Regions from separate parts of the Homo sapiens genome. Here region 2 is linked to region 1. The links are contacts of gene promoters, found by promoter capture Hi-C in blood cells and fetal thymus (Javierre and others, 2016). All regions are on one chromosome and are shown on one strand. The core of a region is centred on a gene start or on the middle of the fragment in contact, and the rest is flanking DNA. Distances in the headings are between cores, read along the strand shown. Region 1 holds the start of MBLAC1 (metallo-beta-lactamase domain containing 1). Region 2 overlaps PPP1R35-AS1 (PPP1R35 antisense RNA 1).

What was found. Contacts are between HindIII fragments. The CHiCAGO score rates a contact against its expected background, and 5 or more counts as called.
Region 2: a fragment that was not itself captured here is called in contact with the fragment with the promoter of MBLAC1 in region 1 in 3 of 17 cell types (total B cells, activated CD4 T cells and naive B cells); the score reaches 6.1 in total B cells.

What each region holds. Positions count from the first base shown.
Region 1 is chr7:100,124,253-100,130,449 of GRCh38, reverse strand. It overlaps MBLAC1 (metallo-beta-lactamase domain containing 1), which reads right to left and starts at 3,483. Exons shown (of 2, transcript NM_203397.3): 1 at 3,386-3,483; 2 at 1,955-3,082. The coding sequence starts at 3,054. The coding sequence ends at 2,254. It overlaps CNPY4 (canopy FGF signaling regulator 4), which reads right to left. Exons shown (of 6, transcript NM_152755.2): 5 at 5,819-5,936; 6 at 4,942-5,725. The coding sequence ends at 5,562. It also overlaps a transcript of TAF6 not described here. RefSeq lists silencers at 2,574-3,053, 3,144-3,263 and enhancers at 3,464-3,533, 4,244-4,913. The HindIII fragment of the contact is 8,479 bases long and covers 1-5,294 here.
Region 2 is chr7:100,437,404-100,443,600 of GRCh38, reverse strand. It overlaps PPP1R35-AS1 (PPP1R35 antisense RNA 1), which reads right to left. Exons shown (of 3, transcript NR_187540.1): 2 at 5,099-5,220; 3 at 3,724-3,867. Among named protein-coding and RNA genes, the nearest start is that of PPP1R35-AS1, 3.8 kb to the right of the region's middle. RefSeq lists an enhancer at 6,011-6,197. The HindIII fragment of the contact is 6,057 bases long and covers 1-5,314 here.

The sequences.
Region 1 (6,197 bases), core at 2,234-4,733:
ACTATTTATGTCATCTCTGTTGACTTAAGGTCAAGTCACTTAACCACTCAGCACTTCAGTATTTTCTTATTTGTGAAAAGGAATAATAGGCCAGGTGTGGCAGCTCAACATCTGTAATCCTAGCACTTTGGGAGGCTGAGGCAGCTGGATCACCTGAGGTCAGGAGTTCAACCAGCCTGGCCAACATGGCAAAACCCCATCTCCGCTTAAAAAAAAAAATACAAAAAGCCAGGCGCAGTGACTCACGCCTGTAATCCCAGCACTTTGGGAGGCTGAGGTGGGTGGATCGCCTGAGGTCAGGAGTTCGAGACCAGCCTGGCCAACATGGTGAAACCCTGTCTCTACTAAAAATAGAAAATTTAGCTAGATGTGGTGGTGTGCGCCTGTAGTCCCAGCTACTCGGGTGGCTGAGGCACAAGAATCGCTTGAACCCAGGAGGCGGAGGTTGCAGTGAGCTGAGACTGTGCCACTGTATTCCAGCCTGGGCAACAAGAGTGAAACTCCGTCTCAGAAAAAAAAAAAAAATGTAGCTGGGCACGGTGGCAGGCACCTGTAATCCCAGCTACTCGGAAGGCTGAGGCAGAGAAGTGCTTGAACCCAGGAGGCGGAGGTTGCATTGACCGAGATCGAGCCACTGCACTCCTCCAACCTGGGCAACAGAGTGAGACTCTGTGGAAAGAAAGAAAGAGACAGAGAGAGAGAGAGAAAGGAAAGAAAGAAAGAAAGATAATAATAGTACTTAGCTCAGAGCTGCGATGAGGAACAAATAAGTTAATGGATGGGGCTGGGCACGGTGGCTCACGCCTGTAACCCCAGCAGTTTGGGAGGCTGAAGGCTGAAGTGGAAGGATCACTTAAGCCCAGGAGTTCCAGGTCACAGTGAGTTTTGATTGCACCACTACACTCCAGCCTGGGTTACAGAGCAAGACTCAGTCAATAATAATAATAATAATAATGTACAGAAAGTGCTTAGAGCAAGTAGAACTGGTCTGCTCTGTGAGCTCTTAGGATCTCACTTCAGGCATCTGTTGCTGTTTCACCCCGCCCTACTCTGTGCCAGAGGTTGTCCAAGGTGCTGGAGGTCCCAAGCATAGGAGAGCCAGGCAGGTGTGGCCCCATCCCATGCCCATGGGAGCAATCCGGCTGCTGAAAGAAAACAGATATTAAATCATCACACTTGGGGAAGGGCACAGTGGCTCATGCCTGTAATCCCAGCAAAAAAAAATGCAGAGGGCCTGAGAAGGTAGGATCTTTTTAGGTCAGGAGTTCAAGACCAGCCTGGGCAACACAGTGAGACCATTTCTGAAAAAAAATGAAAAAAAAAAATTAGCTGATAGCCAGGCATGGTGGTTCATACCTGTAACCTCAGCACTTTGGGAGGCTGAGATGGGCAGATCACTTGAGGCCAGGAGTTTGAGACCAGTGTGGCCAACATGGTAAGACCCTTTCTCTACTAAAAATATAAAAATTAGCTGGACATGGTAGTGTGAGCCTGTAATCCCAGCTGCTGGGAAGGCTGAGGCACAAGAACCAATTGAACCCAGGAGGCAGAGGTTGCAGTGCAGTCTGCAGTACAAGATTGTGCTATTGCATTGCAGCCTGTGGGGACAGAGTGAAACCGTGTTTCAAAAAAAAAAAAAAATTAGTGGGGCATAGTGGCACTTGCCTGTCATCCCAGCTACTTGGGAGGCTGAGGCAGGTGGATGGCTTAAGCTGGAGGCTGCAGTGAGCTATGACTGCACAACTGCACTCTAGCCTGTGTGACAAAAAAATATGAACAAATACATAAGTCAGGTGACTAAGGGGTCATCTTTATGCCCTGTACCTTCTCTCAGCAACCTCCATCCTATAAGAAAGGGGCAATTGGCCAAAGTATGCCTCTGCTGTAGTTGTAGATTACCATGTTTGCACGATTATCATTGTCAATGCTTCACATTTACACTAGGGCACTATGATTTTCAATGCAGTTTCCATTTTTATTTTGGAGGCCCCTCCCACGAACCTTCTCCCATTTTACTGAGGCCCAGGGAGAATGCACAGGGAGCTGAGCCCCTCCTTTGATCTTAGTTTGGTGGCAGAGACAGGCAGTGATACTGACGATGTGATGGCAGTGTCAGGTGCACTCTGTCTTCACTAGAAAACTGGCCTCCTGGAAGGGCTGGAAGCTCCCACCCTTGACTGCTCTGACTCTGTCTCCAGCAGCTCTTCGCTGTTAGGGCTTCCCTGACAAGAGTGCAGTCCCTCTCGAGGCTGATTAGTGCAGGGCGGGCTCCTCGTCTCCGACCACCGGCTCCTGCTGGCTGTTCCCTCCACCCTCCGTCTCGGGCTGCGAGGCTTCCCTTAACACTCGAAAGGGGGGCCCGTGACCAGGTACGACCACGTCGGCAACGACCAGGACCCTCTTCCGGCTCCGCTCCTGGGCTGCGGGGTCTTCACTCAGTGCCTGCCACGAATCCTCGTCCCCATCTCGCTCAAACACATCTCCCGCCACCACCACGGTGCCCAGAGCCGTGCCGGCCACCACCACGCTCACGTCGCGCTGGCCCCCGTGGCCCGGCGTGGCCCACACCTCGAGCCCCGGGCCCAGGCGCAGGGGCTGCCCCTCACCCAGCCCGTGGGGCAGGTAGCGGCCTCCGGGAAGGCAGAAGTCGTGCGAGACCAGCAGAGCCGCGCCTGGGAACAGCCCCAAGTTCCCGATGTGATCCGAGTGCCCGTGGGTCCCCACCACTAGCGTCACGTCTCCCGGGGCCACGCCCTGCCCCGCCAGCGCCCCCAGCAGCGCCTCCCGAGCCCAGGGGCCCCCGGTGTCCACCAGGATGGGGCCACGGGCCGCCTCCTCCAGGGCGGCCTCTGCGCCGCCACTCCCGCGCGGGGACTCTCGGTGGCTGGAGGCCGGGCCCCGGGTCTGGGGTAGGACCAGGGTCACGGAGCCGTCGGCGCGCACGGCATCGCCCACACCCTCTGGCTCCGCGTAGCCCTGCAGCAGAACCACCACAGAGTAGGGGTCGCCGGGCACCAGCAGAGGGGATGCCCCGCACAGCGGCTCGGTCCGCATGAGGCTGCTCCTGGCAGGGAGGGACGGGCTGGGGAGAAAGGAAATGGAGCAGTGGGCGACCGTCCTGTCCCTCCGCGATCCCCCACCCGCGCTCGGCCCCGCCACTGCCCCTAAGCCTCGGTTCTCTGCCACCCGCCTCCCATTAAGTTGGTATCACCCTCAACCCCTGCCCAAAATGGTATCGCCCAGACTCCCTTCACACTTGGGCCCGCCCCTCCCTCGGCGTCCTCGGCCCCCGCCCCATTCCGTTCGCGGTACGTACGTCCTTGCCCGTCACCCTCCAAAGGCTATCCTTTATGTTTCCCTCCATCGAATCCTAGCCGCGCTCTACCTTGGGCCTCTGCTAGGTCTTGCCTCACTCGAAGAAAGCGCAGAAATCGAAAACGCGGGTGAGAGTTTGTCCTCTGCGGTTCCCGTGTACCCAGATATGGCGGCCGAAGCGGCGCCGCGGAGGTAGCTGTAGTTCCGGCGCCTTCACCGTGTGCCCGAGGAGGCTGCCTGGCTGGGCTCCAGCCTCCTGGCGGTTCTCCGCTCCGCAACCCCAGCAACTTCTTTGCACTGCAGAATTTTGAAGCGCCATTAGCTTTGAGGAGGGTTCATGCTCAGTTGCCCAGGCAGGAGTGCAGTGGCGCGATCATACCTCACTGCAGCCTCAACCTCCTGGGCTCATGTGATCCTCCCGCCTCAGCGTCCCGAGTATCTGGGACCACAGATGCGCACCACCAAGCCCAGCTAAGGTTTCTATTTTTTCTTTCTCTTTTTTTTTGGAGACACGGTCTAGTTCTGTTGCCAGGACTGGTCTGGAACTCCTGGGCTCCAGCGATCCTCCAGTCTTGGTCTCCTGAAGTGCTAGGATTACAGGTGTGAGCCACCGCGCCTGGTCTTTTTTTCTTTTGAGACAGTCTCGCCCTGTCGCCCAGGCTAGAGTGCAGGGGCACCATCATAGCTCGCCCCAGTCTTGAACCCCTGGTTCTAGCGATCCTCCTGCTTCAGCCTCCTGGAGTGCTGGGAATACAGGCGTGCACGCCCCTCTAAATTTTTTTTGGTTTTTTTTGAGACGGAGTCTTGTTCTGTCGCCCAGGCTAGAGTGCAGTGGCGTGATCTCAGCTCACTGCAACCTCCGCCTCCTGGGTTCAAGCGATTCTCCTGTCTCAGCCTCCCGAGTAACTGGGATTACAGGCGCCCACCACCATGCGTGGCTTTTTTTTTTGAGACGGAGTCTCGCTCTATCACCCAGGCTGGAGTGCAGTGGCACGATCTTGGCTCACTGCCAGCTCCGCCTCCCGGGTTCCCGCCATTCTTCTGCCTCAGCCTCCCGAGTAGCTGGGACTGCAGGCGCCTGCCACCACACCCGGCTAATTTTTTGTATTTTTAGTAGAGACGGGCTTTCACCGTATTAGCCAGGATGGTCTCGATCTCCTAATCTTGTTATCCACCCGCCTTGGCCTCCCAAAGTGCTGGGATTACAGGCGTGAGTCACCGCGCCCAGCCGCCCGGCTAATTTTTGTATTTTTGGTAGAGACGAGGTTTCTCCATGTTGGCCAGGCTGCTCTCGAACTCCTACACTCAGGTGATCCGCCTGCCTCGGCCTCCCAAAGTGCTAGGATTACAGGTGTGAGTCACTGCGCCCAGCCTCCAGGCTGGTCTTGACCTTTTGGACTCAAGTGATCCTCCCATCTCCACCTCTGCAGTAACTGGGACTACAGGCGCTGCACCACCAGCCCTGCAGTCTTCTTTGTGTGTGTGTGTGTGTGTAGAATTGGGGTTTCACTATGTTGCTCAGGCTGGAGCTTGAGCTTAACAAGACAGCGGCCATTCTGGGTGCTGCCTCATCGACCAGCTAGCTATGTGTGCCCGGCTGTTGTTTGAAACTTTGGGCCCAGCTAGTTTTTAGAAAAAAAGAAAAAAGTTTAATAGCGATATAGAAAATTGAGCACCTATAAAACTATATGGTGGGCTCTGGGTTACATTGAGCTTAAGTAGACCAAGTATCTATCCCACCTAAATTATCAGCAACTCCAGGCCATGACCCAGTGTCCCATTCTCCTTCACGGTTTGCTGGTGTGTAGCCTCCTGGATACAGGCAATGTATATAGATCGCAGAGAATGTCCGTTCTGGCCTCTTCCTTGGAAGGGTCTAAAAACAGACCTTAAGGAGCTAAGTGACTTCCCCAAAGCCCACAGCTCCAGTGCCACTGCTGACTTTTGGGTGGGGGTGGGATCAGTTAAAGAGGAAAGCTTTCAGTACTGTCAGCACATACACCTGCCAATTAAGGGGCTGGATAGAGTTCATCTCTAGGAGCAGGACCTCCACCCCCACCCTCCACCCCAGAAGCCATGTCATGCTGTTTCACCAGGATCTTGCCTGAGGTTAGATGGGAGAGAACAGCTACAAGCTTGGGTGGAGTCACTCATAAACACACCCTGAAAGCTGTGGAGCAGGGAGAGTGCAGGCTTTAGAGGGCTCTCCATGATCCCTTCCCCTCCTGGGGGCTCAAAGGCAAGGGTCAAAGATCTTCTCGGTCAAGTTTGGGGTGGCTTCCTGTCTTGGTCATCTTGTCTCCCCCTTCCTCTTCCTCCTCTTCCTCCTCCTCCTCCTGCTCTTCCTCCCCTTCTGTTTTCTCTTCCCCATCTGTGATCTCCTTTCCAGTCCAAGTTTCCTGTAGACATGCTAGATCGGATGACAGAAAACAATTTAGATATTAGTCCTGGAGGCAGGGGAGGCTATGGCTTGGCAGGAGAGGAGTTCAACCCTTACGCTTACCAGTTTCAGCAGCTGGGAGCACATGACCTTCACAGAGAAAATTTTGTAGGGGCTGCTCCTGATGGTGGAAGTACCAGTCTCCCACAATGTCTTCAAACTCCTCCAACATGGTCTCACACTGGTCAAGTAGAAGGGCCAGAAGAGTATCTGCTCTGGAGGGATTTGGGATCCCGCCTGTCTTCTCTCCCTGCTCAACCTGACTGATTTTGGAGAGGCAGGTAGCCAGGAAGCTAAGTTTGGCCTACTAGATGTGCAATCCTCATTCATTCAACAAACATTTACCAGCACCTATTCTGCCAAGTAGATTATTAAACTCTTGAGTCTCAGCTCCTTGCCTGTAAAATATGTATGGTAATTGCACCTACCACATCAGGCTGTT
Region 2 (6,197 bases), core at 1,037-3,536, 310 kb before region 1:
TGTGAGCCACTGCACCCGGCCTGATAGCAGAACCTGCTTTTCTTCTACCAGCCTCTCTTGGACTGTGGAAAAACCTCACACCAACATCTCCTTGTCCAATCGCCTCTCTTGGACTGTGGAAAAACCTCACACCAACATCTCCTTGTCCAATCCAGAGGCTTCCATGGAATCACTCTCCACCCCAAGACCCCCCAACATCTCCTGTGTGCTCATTGAGTAACAGACCATCTGCTGCTTCCCCCGTCCCCAACCATCTCCCCAAGGTCCTGGGCATTGGTCCCCTGCTAAGGGGATCTGTCGGGACCTGCCTCCCAGAGTGAGGGTGGCGATTTCTGCATACATTTCCCCTATCTGTGGCTCCCTTTTCCTGGGTTATGGGCCCATCTTCCGTGCCTCCACACCCTTTCTTTCTACCTCCAGCTGTCCCTGGGCTCTTTGGGACCCTAACCACTGGCATCAATCAACCTTCTATGCCCAGTGTGGACATCAAGGACATCTCCCCAGCAAGCTCAGGCCTTCAGCCCAACATTCTCCTCCTTGCTGTGCTCAGCTCCATTGAATTCTCCATCCTCCACCCCACCCTGCAAATCTGTTTATCTTTGCTTTTCTGGTTTCTTTCATTTTCCTCTGCCTCACCCAGATTCCAGACAAATTCTTATTTATTTATTTATTTATTTGAGATACAGTTGCTGGCGGCTCACTGTAACCTCTGCCTCCCAGGTTCAAGTGATTCTCATGCCTCAGCCTCCGGAGTAGCTGGGATTTGCAGGCATGTGCCAGCACACGCAGCTAAAATTTTTTTTTTTTTTTTTTGAAATGGAGTCTCGCTTTGCTCGCTTTGTTGCCCAGGCTGGTGTGCAGTGGCATGATCTGGGCTCACTGCAACCTCCACCTCCTGGGTTCAAGCAATCCTCCCACCTCAGCCTCCCAAGTAACTGGGATTACAGGCCTGGGCTACCACATACGGGTAATTTTTATATTTTTAGTAGAGACGGGGTTTCAGCATGTTGGCCAGGCTGGTCTTGAACTCCTGACCTCAAGTGATCCATCTGCTTGGGCCTCCCAAAGTGCTGGGATTATAGGCGTGAGCCACAACACCCAGCTTGGATTATGGACAAATTCTTTTGAATGAGACTCTGTCCCCTGCCTCCAACTTTTCTGCATCCCAGCAGCTGGCATCATCCCATGTCCCAGAGACTTCACACATACCTAATGGGGCTCATCTCAACCCTCCTGTTCCTCAGCCTGATGCTGGGGAGGCCAGGCTCAGGGTCAGTGTGTTGGCCTGCAGCCCGATGTGTGCCCTCCTCCCTGGATCTCTTCCTTCTGGGTTGGGACGAAGGCGTGAAGGTGGTTTGGAGTCATGAGTTCAGGCTGAGACACCTCAGACCTACCTGACCTGCTGGGGGATTCACCCTGCCAGCCTCCGAGATGCAGTAGGATGAGAACACGCACTCTGGGGATAGGAGCCTGGATGTGTGTGTGTCTGGAGGTTGGCCATTCCCATCTTCCAGCGTGTCTCGTGTGACAGGGACCAGTGTGGAAGTGTCTCTGGGTTGGCCCTTAGGCATAGGCCAGTTTGAGAATAGGAGACAGGAGGTGAGAGGTCGCCATAGGTGGGGTTTGCAGAGGGTGGTATTAGAGCTTTGCTGTCTCTCTGATCTTTCTTGGCCCTATTTGGGGGTGACTTCCAGGATGACGCCCTTGCTCCTCCCCCACCCCCAACCCTGGCAGGTCTTCCCATGTGTCCTCTGTAGCAGTCTCAGCCACACCGTGCAGTGGACCACTGCATTGGAGGCATCCTACCTCTTCTTAAGGACATGGTCCCTTCAAGGACCCTGGATGCTGACCTGTCTCCTGTCCCACCTAGCCCACCTATAGCACCTGGCTCAGCAGAAGCTCATGGATGACCTTGAATGACCCCTTCCAGCACTGAGACTTGCTTTCTTCAAACTAGCATCCAGGTCTAGGATTACCCCACTCAGCAGCCTCAGATAACTAAAGGAGCATCTCTAACTGGTGAGGTCTAACCCAATCAAAAGTCTTTTTTTTTTTTTTTTTGAGACGGAGTCTCGCTCTGTTGCCCAGGCTGGAGTGCAGTGGTGCGATCTCGGCTCACTGCAAGCTCCGACTCCCAGGTTCACGCCATACTCCTGCCTCAGCCTACTGAGTAGCTGGGACTAGAGGCGCATGCCACCACACCCGGCTAATTTTTTGTATTTTTAGTAGAGACAGGGTTTCACCGTGTTAGCCAGGATGGTGTTAATCTCCTGACCTCGTGATCCGCCCGCCTCGGCCTCCCAAAGTGCTGGGATTACAGGCGTGAGCCACAGCACCCAGCCCAAAAGCCTTATAATAAATAATATTTAAGAGATGGGTGTTGCTCTGTCGCCAAGGCTGGAGTGCAGTGGCGTGATCATAGCTCACTGCAGCCTCGAAGTCCTGGGCTCAAGGGATCCTCCCACCTCAACCTCCCCGGTACCTGGGACTACAGGAATACACCACCACGCCTGGCTAATTTTTAATTTTTTTATAGAGACTGGGTCTCACTATGTTGCCCAGGCTGGTCTTGAACTCCTGGCCTCACAGGGATCCTCCTGCCTCTGCCTCCCAAAGTGCTGGAATTACAGGCATGAGTCACGGTGTCCCAGCCATTTTTTTTTTTTTTTTTTTTTTTTGAGACAGAGTCTCACGCTGTTGCCCAGGCTGGAGTGCAGTGGTGCCATCTTGGCTCACTGCAACCTCCCCCTCTCAGGTTCAAGTGATTCTCATGCCTCAGCCTCCCGAGTAGCTGAAATTACAGGCATGTGCTGCCATGCCCAGGTAATTTTTTGTAGTTTTAGTAGAGAAAGGGTTTCACTGTGTTGCCCAGGTTGGTCTCGAACTCCTGGCCTCAAGTGATCTGCCTGCCTTGGCCTCCCAAAATGCTGGAATTATAGGCATGAACCACCATGCCCTGTCCTCCTCCCCATTTTTTTTTTTTTTTTTTTTGAGACCGAGTCTCGCTCTGTCACCCAGGCTGGAGGGCAGCAGCACAATCTCAGCTTACTGCAACCTCTGCCTCCCCGGTTCAAGCAATTCTTCTGCCTCAGCCTCCTGAGTAGCTGGGACTACAGATGAGTGCTACCACGCCCAGCTAATTTTTTGTCCCCTTTTCTTTTGAAGAGGAAAAGCAATTCCTGGCCTCCCAGCCTGGGCCAGCCAAAATAGCTTAGGAAGAATGTGGGCAGGCCCAAGACCTCTCACCTCCCTCACCTCCACCTTCCGATCTTCACACTCGTACTGTTTTTTTTTTTTTAATTATTATTATTATTATTATTATTTTGAGACAGAGTTTTGCTCTTGTTGCCCAGGCTGGAATGTAATGGCACGATCTCTGGCTCACTGCAACCTCCGCCTCCCAGCTTCAGGCAATTCTGCCTCAGCCTCCTGAGTAGCTGGGATTACAAGCATGCACCACCACACCCGGCTAATTTTGTATTTTTAGTAGAAATGGGGTTTCTCCATGTTGGTCAGGCTGATCTCAAACTCCCAACCTCAGGTGATCTGCCTGCCTCGGCCTCCCAAAGTGCTGGGATTACAGGCGTGAGCCACCGCGCCAGGCCCTGTTTTCTTAAAATCATTGGTGAACATTCCACTTCTTGGAGACCCGCAATGTAAACTGGGCAAACAGAATGGCTTGTTTTCGTCTGTGCTGGGGCCTGAAATGAGTCAGTGACTAGATTTTAAGGCTGAGGAATTGCGTTTACTGGGTTCATGGACACGAACTCCTGTAGGGCCTAGATATTTATCAGCATGGCCAAGGCCTGGGGGACAGTTTCGAGTCTCAGCTCCAACACTTCCTGCATGCCAAAACTGCGTCAGCCTCTTTTTTTAAATAAACAAAAAACGTTTAGTCACAGAAATGTTCAAGAATATGCAAAAGTAGAGAAAATATAGTAATAAAATCCTGCTTCAGCAGTCATCAACATTTGGCTAATCTTGTTTTATCCATGTACCCTCAAATACTGTTCCGAACCCCAACTTTTTTTTTTCTTGTGACAGGGTCTCACTCTGTCATCCAGGCTGGAGTGCAGTGGCGAGATCCTGGCTCACTGCAACCGCCGCCTCCTGGGTTCAAGTGATTCTCATGCCTCAGCCTCCTGAGTAGCTGGGACTATGGGACTACAGGCACGTGCTACCATGCCTGGCTAATTTTTTGTACTTTTTAGTAGAGACGAGGTTTTGCCATGTTGCCCAGGCTGGTCTTGAACTCCTGAGCTCAGGCAACTTGCCTGCCTCGGCTTCCTAAAGTGCTGGGATTACAGGCTTGAGCCACTGTGCTCAGTCTTGATACTTTTCAATTTAAGGTAAAATACAGCATGATTTATTAGTTTTTTTTGTTTGTTTGTTTTTTGTTTTTTGAGACAGAGAGTCTAGCTCTGTCACCCAGGCTGGAGTGCAGTGGCACAATCTTGGCTCACTGCAACCTCCACCTCCTGAGTTCCAGTGACTGGCCTACTCAGTCTCCCAAGTAGTTGGGACTACAGGCACCTGTCACCACACCCGGCTAATTTTTTTGTATTTGTATTTTATTTTACTATTACTTTTTGAGGCAGAGTCTTGCTCTGTTACACAGGCTGGAGTCCAGTTGCACGATCTCAGCTCACTGCAACATACGCCTCCTGGGTTCAAGCGATTCTTGTGCCTCAGCTTCCCAAGTAGCTGGGATTACAGGTGTGCACCACCACGCCTGGCTAATTTTTATATTTTTAGTAGAAACGGGGTTTCACCATGCTGGCCAGGCTGGTCTCGAACTCCTGACCTCAAGTGATCCACCCACCCGGGCTTCCCAAAGTGCTGGGATTACAGGTGTAAGCCACTGTGCCTGGCCTGATTTTTTAAAACCTTTTAATATAATCATATAAAATGCATACATTTCCAAAGTCAAATATACAAAACAAAGTATATTTGGAGGAATAAGACTGTTTGTCTTTCATTCTATTCTCTCCCTCCTATGTCGCTATTAAAAATTTTTAATTTATACTCCCAGTTTAAAAATTTATATTTGTACCTCGCTATTTCTTTTCACAATTGAACAATGAGATAATAGACATACTTGCTTGTTCTTAACTTTAGCAGGAAAGCCTCTAGTGTTCCACCATTGAGATCTTCCTTTAAAATCCTTTTTGTAAAATTTGGGCTGTGCTATCCATTCTATCTGATGTTCCACAGCACTTCCTGGAAAGATAAAATGAACAATGTGGAAACTCATAATGAAAAGTGGTACACAAACGTGCCTGTTGACTGAGCATCAATCAATTCCAGGAAAGCTTCAAGATTCCTGAACCTTTTTGAAGCAGTTTGGAGAATTAAAAAAAAAAAAAAAAAAAGAGTAAGAAAGGATTCCTGAACCCACTTCCACTTACATTCTACACAAAAAATGAAAGGAGACTTGCAGAATTGAGGGGACCTGCCCCAAGTAACCTAAGGAGCAGGTGGGAGCTCTCATTTCCTTTTCTGCAGTTCAGGGGTCTTCTGCTATGTGGAAAAGCTCAGGGCCCAGGATAAGTCCACTGACATTAAAAATTAAAAAAACTGAATTCAAGGCTGGGTGCAGTGGCTACTGCCTGTAATCATAGCACTTTGGGAGGCCAAGGCAGCTGAACCACTTGAGGTCAGGAGTTCGAGGCCAACACGGTGAAACCCTGTCTCTACTAAAAATACAAAAAAAATTAGCCGGGTGTGGTGGTAGGCGCCTGTAATCCCACCTACTTGGGAGGCTAAGGTGGGAGAATTGCTTGAACACTGGAGGCAGACGTTGCAGTGAGCTGAGATTGTGCCACAGTCTCCAGCCTGGGCACCAGAGCGAGACTCCGTCTCAAAAAACAAAATAAAACATTGAACCCACAATACAGAGTTTTTTGTTTGTTTCTGAGACAGGGTCTTGCTCTGTCGCCCAGGCTAGAGCGCAGTGGTATGATCAGAGCTCATTGCAGCCTGGAACTCCTGGACTCAAGTGATCCTCCCGCCTCAGCCTTCCCAGTAGCTGGGACTACAGGTGAGCACCACCACCACGCCCGGCTAAAATTAAATTCTTTTGGTAGAGATTGGGAATGGTGGTGTGGAGTCTCGGTATGTTGCCCATGCTTGTCTCCAGCTCAGGGTTTCAAGACATCTTCCCGCCTTGGCCTCCCAGAGTTGGAATTGCAGGTATG